Linked DNA regions of Homo sapiens: region 2 is linked to region 1. The links are contacts of gene promoters, found by promoter capture Hi-C in blood cells and fetal thymus (Javierre and others, 2016). All regions are on one chromosome and are shown on one strand. The core of a region is centred on a gene start or on the middle of the fragment in contact, and the rest is flanking DNA. Distances in the headings are between cores, read along the strand shown.

The links. Contacts are between HindIII fragments. The CHiCAGO score rates a contact against its expected background, and 5 or more counts as called.
Region 2: a contact is called between a fragment that was not itself captured here and the fragment with the promoter of BST1 in region 1, in 1 of 17 cell types (neutrophils). The highest score is 5.4, in neutrophils.

Annotation. Positions count from the first base shown.
Region 1 is chr4:15,700,414-15,705,152 of GRCh38, forward strand. It overlaps BST1 (bone marrow stromal cell antigen 1), which reads left to right and starts at 2,652. Exons shown (of 9, transcript NM_004334.3): 1 at 2,652-2,919. The coding sequence starts at 2,732. RefSeq lists a silencer at 2,591-2,670. The HindIII fragment of the contact is 13,056 bases long and covers 1-4,739 here.
Region 2 is chr4:15,010,416-15,015,778 of GRCh38, forward strand. The region is part of intron 3 of CPEB2 (cytoplasmic polyadenylation element binding protein 2); the gene reads left to right. It overlaps C1QTNF7-AS1 (C1QTNF7 antisense RNA 1), which reads right to left. Exons shown (of 6, transcript NR_125911.1): 4 at 78-157. Among named protein-coding and RNA genes, the nearest start is that of CPEB2, 11 kb to the left of the region's middle. The HindIII fragment of the contact is 2,466 bases long and covers 2,709-5,174 here.

The DNA.
Region 1 (4,739 bases), core at 1,402-3,901:
TTTTTTTTTTTTTGAGACAGAGTCTCACTCTGTCACCAGGCTGGAGTGCAGTGGTGAGATCTCAGCTCACTGCAACCTCCGCCTCCCAGGTTCAAGCGATTCTTCTGCCTCAGCCTCCCGAAGAGCTGGGACTACAGGTGCGTGCCACCACGCCCAGCTAATTTTTGTATTTTTAGTATAGATGGGGTTTCACCATGTTGGCCAGGATGGTCTCGATCCGTGATTCCCAACACACCCCCCACACCAGCCTCCCAAACTGCTGTGATTACAGGTGTGAGCCACGGCGCCCTGCCAGTGCTACACAGTTTAAAACAACCAGATCTCACTTACTATCATGAGAATAGCAACAAGGGGATGGTGCTAGACTATTCTTGAGAAACCCACACCCATGATAAAATCACCTCCCACCAGGCCCCACCTCCAACGTTGGGGATTACAATTTCACATTAGATTTGGTGGGACGAGCCATGCCAGGGATGCCCCAAAATTACTAAACTAAAGGGAAAAGTCAGGCTGGGAACTGCTCAGGGCAAACTTGCCTCCCATTCTATTCAAAGTCATTCAGCTGCTCACTGAGATATATGCATATTCTGATGGCCTTCTTTGGAAAGGCTTATCAGAAACTCAAAAGAAGGCAACCATTTGTCTCTCACCTACCTGAGACCTGGAAGCCCCCTCCGTGCTTCGAGTTGTCCCCGCCTCTCTGGACAGAACCAATGTACTTCTTACATATATTGATTGATATCTCATGTCTCCCTAAAATGTATAAAACCAAGCTGTGCCCTGACCACCTTGGGTACATGTCGTCAGGACTTCCTGAGGTTGTGTCATGGACACGTGTCCTCAACCTTGCTAAAATAAACTTTCTAAATTAATTGAGACCTGTCTCAAAATTTGCGGGTTCACACATGTTATTTAGAAATATGGAAGTAAACACAGGAACAAAACTTGAAAGAATTAAAAATGCTTTCCTCTGGAAAGTGGATTTAACTTAAGGAGGAACTGAACAGGAGAATGCGGGTTTTGGTTACAGAAAAAAAGAGATTCAAATAAAACAGTAGAGAACACCTGTTCTGTCCTCCCTTGTGTTTATCAAGTGCTTGCCAGGCACTCAAAGTTCATTGCTGTCATTATTGTAAGAATTGAGGACTTGGGCCTCCACGTGGTATTCTATTAATACTGGCTCTTTTTTTTTTTTTTTTTGAGACGGAGTCTCACTCTGTTGCCCAGACTGGAGTGCAGTGGCCCGATCTCGGCTCACTGCGAGCTCTGCCTCCTGGGTTCACGCCGTTTTCCCGCCTCAGCCTCCCGAGTAGCTGGGACAACAGGCGCCCGCCACCGCGCCTGGCTAATCTTTTGTATTTTTAGTAGAGACGGGGTTTCACCGTGTTAGCAAGGATGGTCTCGATCTCTTGACCTCGTGATCCACCCGCCTCGGCCTCCCAAAGTGCTGGGATTACAGGTGTGAGCCACCGCGCCCGGCCAATCCTGGCTCTCTTAAACTGAACATCTCCAGGATTTTGCATCTATCAGGAAGGGATATTGTGACCTCTGACAAGTTACAGTCGGCGGTAGGTATCCATGGAGAATTGGTTCCAGGAACCTCCTGGATACCAAAATCCACAGATGCTCAAGGCCCTTATATTAAATGGTGTAGTATACAGTATTTGCACATCCTCTTCTATAATTCACGTCATCTCCAGATTCCTTGTAATATCAAGTACTATGTAATTGTTACATAAGTAGTTGTTACATTGGATTATTTAGGGAATGATGACAAGGAAAAAAAAGTCCGTACATGTTCCGTACAGATGCAAGCATTCTTTTTTTCCTCAAATGTTTCTCATCCGTGGTTAGCTGAATTTGGATGATGAATCCGCAAATCTGGAGGGCCGAACATGCTTAACTTCCCTGAGTTTATCCATTGCTAAAGCGAGAGAAATTACAAACTTAGCTAGGAAGGGTGTTGCGGAAAGTAATTAATATTATACTTGCAAAGTGCTTGGCACGTTGTTGTGGTTATTATTTCCTGAAAACAAACAAACACCACTTATTGGTTGGTGTGAAAGAGGGCATCTGTCAAAGTTGTCGTCCTTTGGAGCCAGAAAAGTATTTCTTCTGATGATGACTGACCTCTCCTCACCTCTCCTTCAACCTTGCGGCTTCTTTGGGGCTCCCTCCCCGTGGACAGCGGTCAAGATTAGCCTGGGCCACAGTGCACTGGTCCTGTCCTGGGTGATGTTCCAAGCTCACTCTTTTTTAATTTTATTTATTTATTAATTTTTTTTTTAGACAGAGTCTCACTCTGTCGCCCAGGGCTGGAGTGCAGTGGTGCAATCACTGCTCGCTGCAGCCTCGATCCCCTGGGGTCAAGCCTCCTCACATCTCACCTCGCAGGTAGCTGAGACTACAGATGCGCACCACCAGGACCAGCTAAGTTTTGTATTTTTTTGTAGAGAGGAGGTTTCTCACCTGTATGTTACTCAGGTTTGTCTCGAACTCCTATACTCAAGCGATCCGCCCGTCTAGGCCTCTCAAAGTGCTGGGATTACAGGCATGAGCCGCCGCGCCCCGCCCCACGCTCAGTCTTGAAATTGTCTGGAACGGGAAACGGCAAACAGCGAGATATCCGAGCGAGAGTCCCGCCCTGCATCAGTTTGCGGAACCGCCTTGGTAGAAGGAGAGAAGGGGAGTGGAGGAAGCACGGGACTGGAGGGACCAAAGTTCCCCGATGGCGGCCCAGGGGTGCGCGGCATCGCGGCTGCTCCAGCTGCTGCTGCAGCTTCTGCTTCTACTGTTGCTGCTGGCGGCGGGCGGGGCGCGCGCGCGGTGGCGCGGGGAGGGCACCAGCGCACACTTGCGGGACATCTTCCTGGGCCGCTGCGCCGAGTACCGCGCACTGCTGAGTCCCGAGCAGCGGTGAGGCAGTCGGCCGGGTGGAAGGGGAGCCGGAAAGAGGCAACGGTGGGGAGGGCCTGGGGAGGGGAAAACTGGCGCTAAAGTTCGGGGTGAGGGGGCAATGAGAGAGGCCTTGAGGGGAGAGGTGAGTGTGGAGACAGCGATGGTCCTGAACGATGGGGGCGAGTGAGGAGGGGGCTGTGAAGTGTGTCTGCAGGTGAGGGGTGCGCTGTGCGGGGTCTAGAGATGAGTGTGTGTGTGTGCGCGCACACACACACTGTAGAGGTGAGGGGTGTGTGCGTGTGTTCTAGAGGTGAGGGGGGTGTGTGTGTGCGCGCGCTCTAGAGGTGGGAGGTGTGTGTGTGCTCTAGAGGTGGATGTGTGTGTGTGTGCTCTAGAGGTGGGGGTGTGTGTGTGTGTGTGTGCTCTAGAGGTGAGGGGTGTGTGTGTGTGTTCTAAAGGTGAGATGTGTGTGTGTGTTCTAGAGGTAAGGGGTGTGTGTGTTCCAGAGGTGAGGTGTCTGTATGTGTGTTCTAGAGGTGAGGGGTGTGTGCATGTGTGTTCTAGAGGTGAAGGGGGTGTGTGTGCGTGCGCTCTAGAGGTGAGGGGTGTGTGTATTCTAGAGGTGAGGGGTGTGTGTGTTCTAGAAGTGAGGGGTGTGTGTGTTCTGGAGGTGAGATGTGTGTGTGTGTGTTCTAGAGGTGAGGGGTGCGTGCATGTGTTCTAGAGGTGTGTGTGTATCTGTGTTCTAGAGGTGAGGGGTGTGTGTGTGTAGTCTAGAGGTGACAGGTGTGTGTGTGTGGTCTATAGGTGAGGGATGTGTGTGTGGTCTAGAGGTGAGGGATGTGTGTGTGGTCTAGAGGTGAGGGGTGTGTGTGTTCTAGAGGTGAGGGGGTGTATGTGTATTCTAGAGCTGAGGAGAGTGTGTGTTCTAGAGATGAGGTGTGTATGTGTGTTCTAGAGGTGAGGGGTGTGTGTGTGTTCTGGAGTTGAGGGGTGTGTGTTCTAGAGGTGAGATGTGTGTGTTCTAGAGATGATGGGTGTGTGTGTTCTAGAAGTGAGAGGTGTGTGTGTTCTAGAGGTAAGGGATGTGTGTGTGTGTGTGTTCTAGAGGTGAGTTGTGTGTGTGTTCTAGAGGTGAGATGTGTGTGTGTTTGTTCTAGAGGTGAGGGGTGTGTGTGTGTAGTCTAGAGGTGACAGGTGTGTGTGTGTGGTCTATAGGTGAGGGATGTGTGTGTGGTCTAGAGGTGAGGGATGTGTGTGTGGTCTAGAGGTGAGAGGTGTGTGTGAGTGTGAAGGAGGGTGGAGAGGTATCCCTCTAGAAGTGAGGGTGGGGTAGAGGTGAACTGGGTAACAGCCCATTGCCACCCAGCAGATGTTTAGTCTGAATACTCAGAACCCAGAATGTGATCTCAGGTTGGAATTCCTTGAGTCCAGTCCTTCCAGAATTCAAATTTCAGATCCCCTAAATCTGGAGGATTTCTGAAGTTTGGGTCTTTCTTGCCAGTGCTGCATTTCTTACTGATTTTTGTTCCTTCTGTGGCCCCCCTTTTCTTATGTTTGTGATGTCTTTCTTGTGCTGATCATTTTTATTGTCGCACATTTCAGGCAAATAAGAAACAGCAGAGAACCACCTGTGTTACACACCACCCAGTATGAGAAACAAAGTTACAAATGCTATGGGAAATATTTTTTGAAAACTAGCATGGACCTCAAGAGGGGCTTGCACTGGAGGGTGCACCTGCTTTGCCAGAGGTGGAAGCCTTTTGCAGCATTGGGCCTCCCTCCTAACACTACACATCCTGCTGGCTGGCCTGGCCTCACCTGGTCCCCGAGCTCCA
Region 2 (5,363 bases), core at 2,692-5,191, 690 kb before region 1:
TGGAGGTAGTATGTGACCTTTCAACTGGACTTAAAAGCAGTGTCATTGTCTCCTCTAAGTACCCTAAGAGTACTTACACATAGTTTGTTGTGTGTTTCCATCTTTCCATAAAAGGTTGAAGTATTTGAAGTTGAGCCTCTTAAAAATACAGCAGCAGCTACAAAATGAAATTGATATCTTAAAATGTTGGGTAGTTTCTCATTCTTTGGCAAAATTAAAATTATAGAAGATTCTTAGTCACTTAAATGTCTGAGGAGATTATCTGCATTTCTGACCTTTTATCATCATATACAGTGTAATTCTAGTATATTTTTGTTAACAAGTACATTATTTTACAACATTTTACTTTTTATTTCCTTTAGTCTCAAACTGATTGGGGCCTAGAATATAATACAAAATTCTAGAACTGAAGTCTTAATTCTTATACTTGGATACCGCGGGCTTTACCTGTGTCAAGAGCTGAACACGTAATCGAATTCAATAAATAAGAAAGAGCTAGTTTTGTAGGTTGATTTTTATTTCTGTTAATATGTAAAATTTTGTGGGTTGGAATTTTATTTTAAATAAGATTTTTTAAAAATAGAAAACCCTCAAATTTAAAACTTTCTAAAAGCAAATATAAATTATTATAAACATTTCTGACTTTAAAATGAGTATTACATACATATCTCTATGAATTTCTTTTCTTTTTTTTTTTTTTTTTTTGAGACAGTTTCACTCTGTCACTCAGGCTGAAGTGCAGTGGCACGATCTCGTCTCACTGCAACCTCTGCCTCCCGGGTTCAAGCGATTCTCATGCCTCAGCCTCCCCAGTAGCTGTGATTACATGCATGCACCACCATACCCGCCTAATTTTTATATTATTAGCAGAGACAGGGTTTCACCATGTTGGCCAGGCTGGTCTCAAACTCCTGATCTCATGTAATCCGCCCGCCTCGGCCTCCAGAGTGCTGGGATTACAGGCTTGAGCCATCATGCCTGGCCAGTATATCTACATGAATTTGCTTAGGGTTATTAATTACTGTACTTTAAAATGTCATTAGCTAGTTACCCTTGCGAGAATCGTACTCAAAAGTTTGAATTCTAAATTATATTACAATGGAATTTGCAGCCAGATCCAGCAATGTGCACTACTTGGAAGGCTGAGGCAGGAGGATTGAATGCCTGAGCCCCAGAGTTGAGTCCAGCCTCGGCAACATAACAAGACACCACCCCCTCTTCCCAAAAAAATAGGAGTTTTCAGTTTAATGTTAAGGTTACGCTATATTTATTCATATGTTTTAAATCAAAGAGTAAATATCCTTTAAGTGAGGTTATTATTACTTACAAGTTTACATATGACATATCAGCTCACTGTAAACAAAGTAATGTCTTGGAACAGTAATTGAGTGTGTGAAGCATGTACGTGCATGTCCGCCTGCCTTCCACCTGGGGAATTATCAATATATCAACTCTCAATTTTTGCTCTTCCACAAGCTCTACTTGCAGTGCTTGAGCATGTCACATAATAAACTACCTTGAATTAATTGAAGATACTTTCCATTAATCTTTAATAGGCTGTTATGATAATGTGGTAAATCATAATTTGGAGATCTGTCTCAGAAAAAATATTATTTGAATCTTTACTCACCTTACACACAAAAAAACAGTATATAGTTGCATACCAAACCCAATTTGTTTATCTGATAAAGCATTTCTTAAATAGTGGTTTGTAAACCAGATGAACTTCAGGGACATTCATAGTCATCAAACTGTTACATGCCCACTGAAAATGGAAAAGAATGGACTCTTGTATTACAGCTTAAGTAATGGATGCCTTCTTTTTGTTTCCTATTCTGTGTTCAGTGCTTTAATTGTTCTTGAAATGTTTTCCACTTGTCTATTTTAATTCTTGTGAGTACTAGAATAGCTTTGGCCTTTTAAAACATTTGTTTATTTTTTTTCTGAGAATGGCTAACACACTTTATTGAGGTTCGAAATTAATAAAGAAAATAAAAGAAATGTATCTTCATTCATTCTGTATGTTAGTGTTTTAATTACCCTTAGAATATATGGATAAAAAATACTATTCTTTGTCTTGGAGAAGGTAAGAGTCTAGTTAGATGAATAAGGGTTATCTATGTAGAACAACTAGAGAATGAGAAGAGAGCTTATGAGATTGAGTACTACGTTATGCAGTAGAGTAGCACGTCATCTGCTACTGAGTATGGTGTGATAACATTGTGTAACAGGAAAGTATGATCAATATCTACTTAAAATTAAGGACAATATTAGCACTACATTGCTTTATTTTAAAGTAAAAATTAGAGAACTAAACACAAGCATTGTAAGTACAATAAAAGCTGATCTTTCTAGTTAAGCAGAATAATACATGTTCAAGCATCTGCTAAATCATTAAATATAAGAATATAGGGGTTTTCTATAATCTTATTTTTCTTTGGAAGAGTACCTCATTTTCAAGAGGAGAAGTTTCTAATTGACCACTTCTTTAAAAATAAAACAGGGTTTTTAATGTATCCCAGCAAAAAAAATTAATATCTCTTCAAAAAGTTCTCTTGTGATTAAGTTTGAATTCCCTTTGTCATACTGCTTCTAATATTGTACACTGACCTCCTTAGTTATTTTTCAGTGTTTATAATCTTTTCTTAGGTTATCTTTTTTCAAGATTTGGATTACTTTGTTCTTTTCTGTGTTTTTCAGCCTTTCTAAGCTTTTATTGATACTCCTGTAAGTGTTTGTGGCAAATGTCTGGGTTTAAGAAAAACCATGAAATAAATATTATAATAAAAGAGGTTATGCCTTTTCCAACAATGTTTTCTAATCATTTTATTCTGTTAGTTATTGTGAGATTCTGTAATCTGTTTCTGAAAGCCCATTTAGTTGATTGTTTGCCAGATAGTTTTTATATTTTAGAATAGATTGCATGCACACTTTTCCTCATAGAGTCTTATATTTCTGAAGTATTTTGGTGCTTTCAAATAACCTTATAGTAATAAATGTAAATTACATTGCTATGATTTTCCATATTTATTAATGATAATTAGTATTGTTGCGTTCATGGTAACTTGAAAATTGCCTTAGTTCTTCTATTTAGTTTTCAAACTGATGGCAGTTTGCATGAACACAATTTTTCCTAATGTCTGTATTTCAGAAGAATGCATGAGTGTTTGTTTTATAACCAGATTTGTTTCTGTTTTTTCAGAAGTCATATTTTAATTCCTGCAATTTATTTAATGGAATTATCAATATCTTTTGCATGTAAGCCTATAGGTTTCATTAAATTCAAAAAGCAATTTTGAGATGTCATGTGCTCTTTGGTTGCTCAAGGCTGTTTTATGTTTGTTGCTTTAAAAATCACATGGGATGCAGCTGATGCTTTACAAAGTACAACCAAGCTAATCATTTTAAAATAGCTTTGCTGTTTTCTTTCCTAGAGTAGGAGTTTAGGATCAAATACTTAACAGAAAAAGGAAAATAAGAGACCTTATAAGTAGGCATCTCACTGATTCAGTTAGATACAGACATTCAAGCTGAAGTTATTAATACATGCAGCCTTTTTGAATAACACCTCTCAAAATTGATTATATAGTGGTCACTGATATTTATAGTTAGTTTAAGGATGTTTCTCTTTCATACTTTAAATATTGTCCATGACCCGAGCAATAATTTTACCATGCTATAGAGCAAGATCACACCTCTTGCAATGAAGGTAGAGGGTACTTTCCCCTACACCTCCAGAAAAAGGAAGTTACTTGGGAAATATTGTTTGGGTGATTTAATAGTTACCATTAATTAAGGTCATCGGTTGACTGGGCATAGGTTGATTCTGTTCAAAGTTAACAACCTAAAAAGATAACCATGAACTGTAATATATTTCCTTTGTGAGGATTTAGGGTAAGGAAGATAATAAAGTATTTTAAAGTATTTACAGTATACTCTTAGAACCTTCATGATATGGCACACCTGCAGAGGGATTTTTTGCTTAATTATATGAACATTAACTTTTATCATTACAGCTTACATTTTATAATTCTATTTTAAATACATCTGGGAACTTTCAGTATTGTGGTACTTAATCTTCCATTGGGTGGTTGGAAATTCAGGTTCATAGCAAGCCACGTTAATCTGATGCTTGTCTCAGTTTAGTCAATTAACATTTGACTACCTGTTCCGTTGAGGATTCTGAGAAAGTTTTATAGTCCTTTACCATTACTATTTAAAAAGTACAGTCTTTCTCCTTACAGAACTCGACTTTTTTTTTACATTTTTTATTGAGTTTTTATGGTAGAGATAAAGAAGTATTCATTCAACAGACATGAGAACTAACTATATTCTGTAATTAGATAGTCCCTATTCTTAATCAACTTAGAAGTTTAGTGGGACAGACAGGAAAATCAACAAATTAGTTATGAACACAGTATAGTGGAAGCACAGGGAAGATGGAAATATCTGGATAGATTCCTAAAATTAATATGTCATTTTTGCCCATATGGGCCATCCTATTCTCTGTTTCAGTTTTATTAATATTTCATTTATTTTAGAGTATTTTGAGTCTTTTTCTTTTCTAGAATTTTTAAAGAGACTATAGGCATCATCTAGTCTGACATGATTATTTTCTAGGAGTTAGAACCAGAGCCTAGAGAGATTTAGTGACTTCAGACGAAGAAACTAATTGCTTCTTATAAAGTGTGATATCCAGACCAGCAGAATCAGTATCACCTGGGAACTTGTTAGAAATACATACTCTCAGGTTCCACTCCAGACCTACTGAATTTGATGTGTTTCAGCAGTCTGTGTGTTTAACCAGCCTTCCAGATGATTCTGAAGCATGTTCAAGTTTAGGAACCACTGTTACAGCTCATTGATTCTTTGTGCCTCCATCACTAATCAAGGTCACTGTTCTAGAGAGCAGCTGTTATTGATGCATGTGTTTTACCTCAGGGGCCTTTCAGTAAAAATCAGTAAAGAGTACTGATAGAGTTAATTGGTGATAAAGCTGGAATAAGAGCCTCCAGTCTAGCATTCCTTCCGTCATTCAGTGTTACTTTTTACCTTTTTAAATCCCTGACAGCAACTTAGTCTACAGTACTGATTCTGAACCCCTAGCTTTAAAAAGGCTACAACCCTAATTTAAACATCAAAGTAAAGTAAATAAATGAACATATTCTTAGAAAAGCTTTTTAGGTTTTTCTTCAGCTTTCTAAAGAACTGATTCTGAATCTTCTCTGGATTGTGGACTCCTGTGGAAAACTGATGAAAGCTATAAACCTTTTCTTCGGGAAAAAAAGAAATTATGTACACACTAGTCCCCCCTTATCCATGAGTGATACGTTCCAAGACAATCAGTGGATGGCTGAAACTGC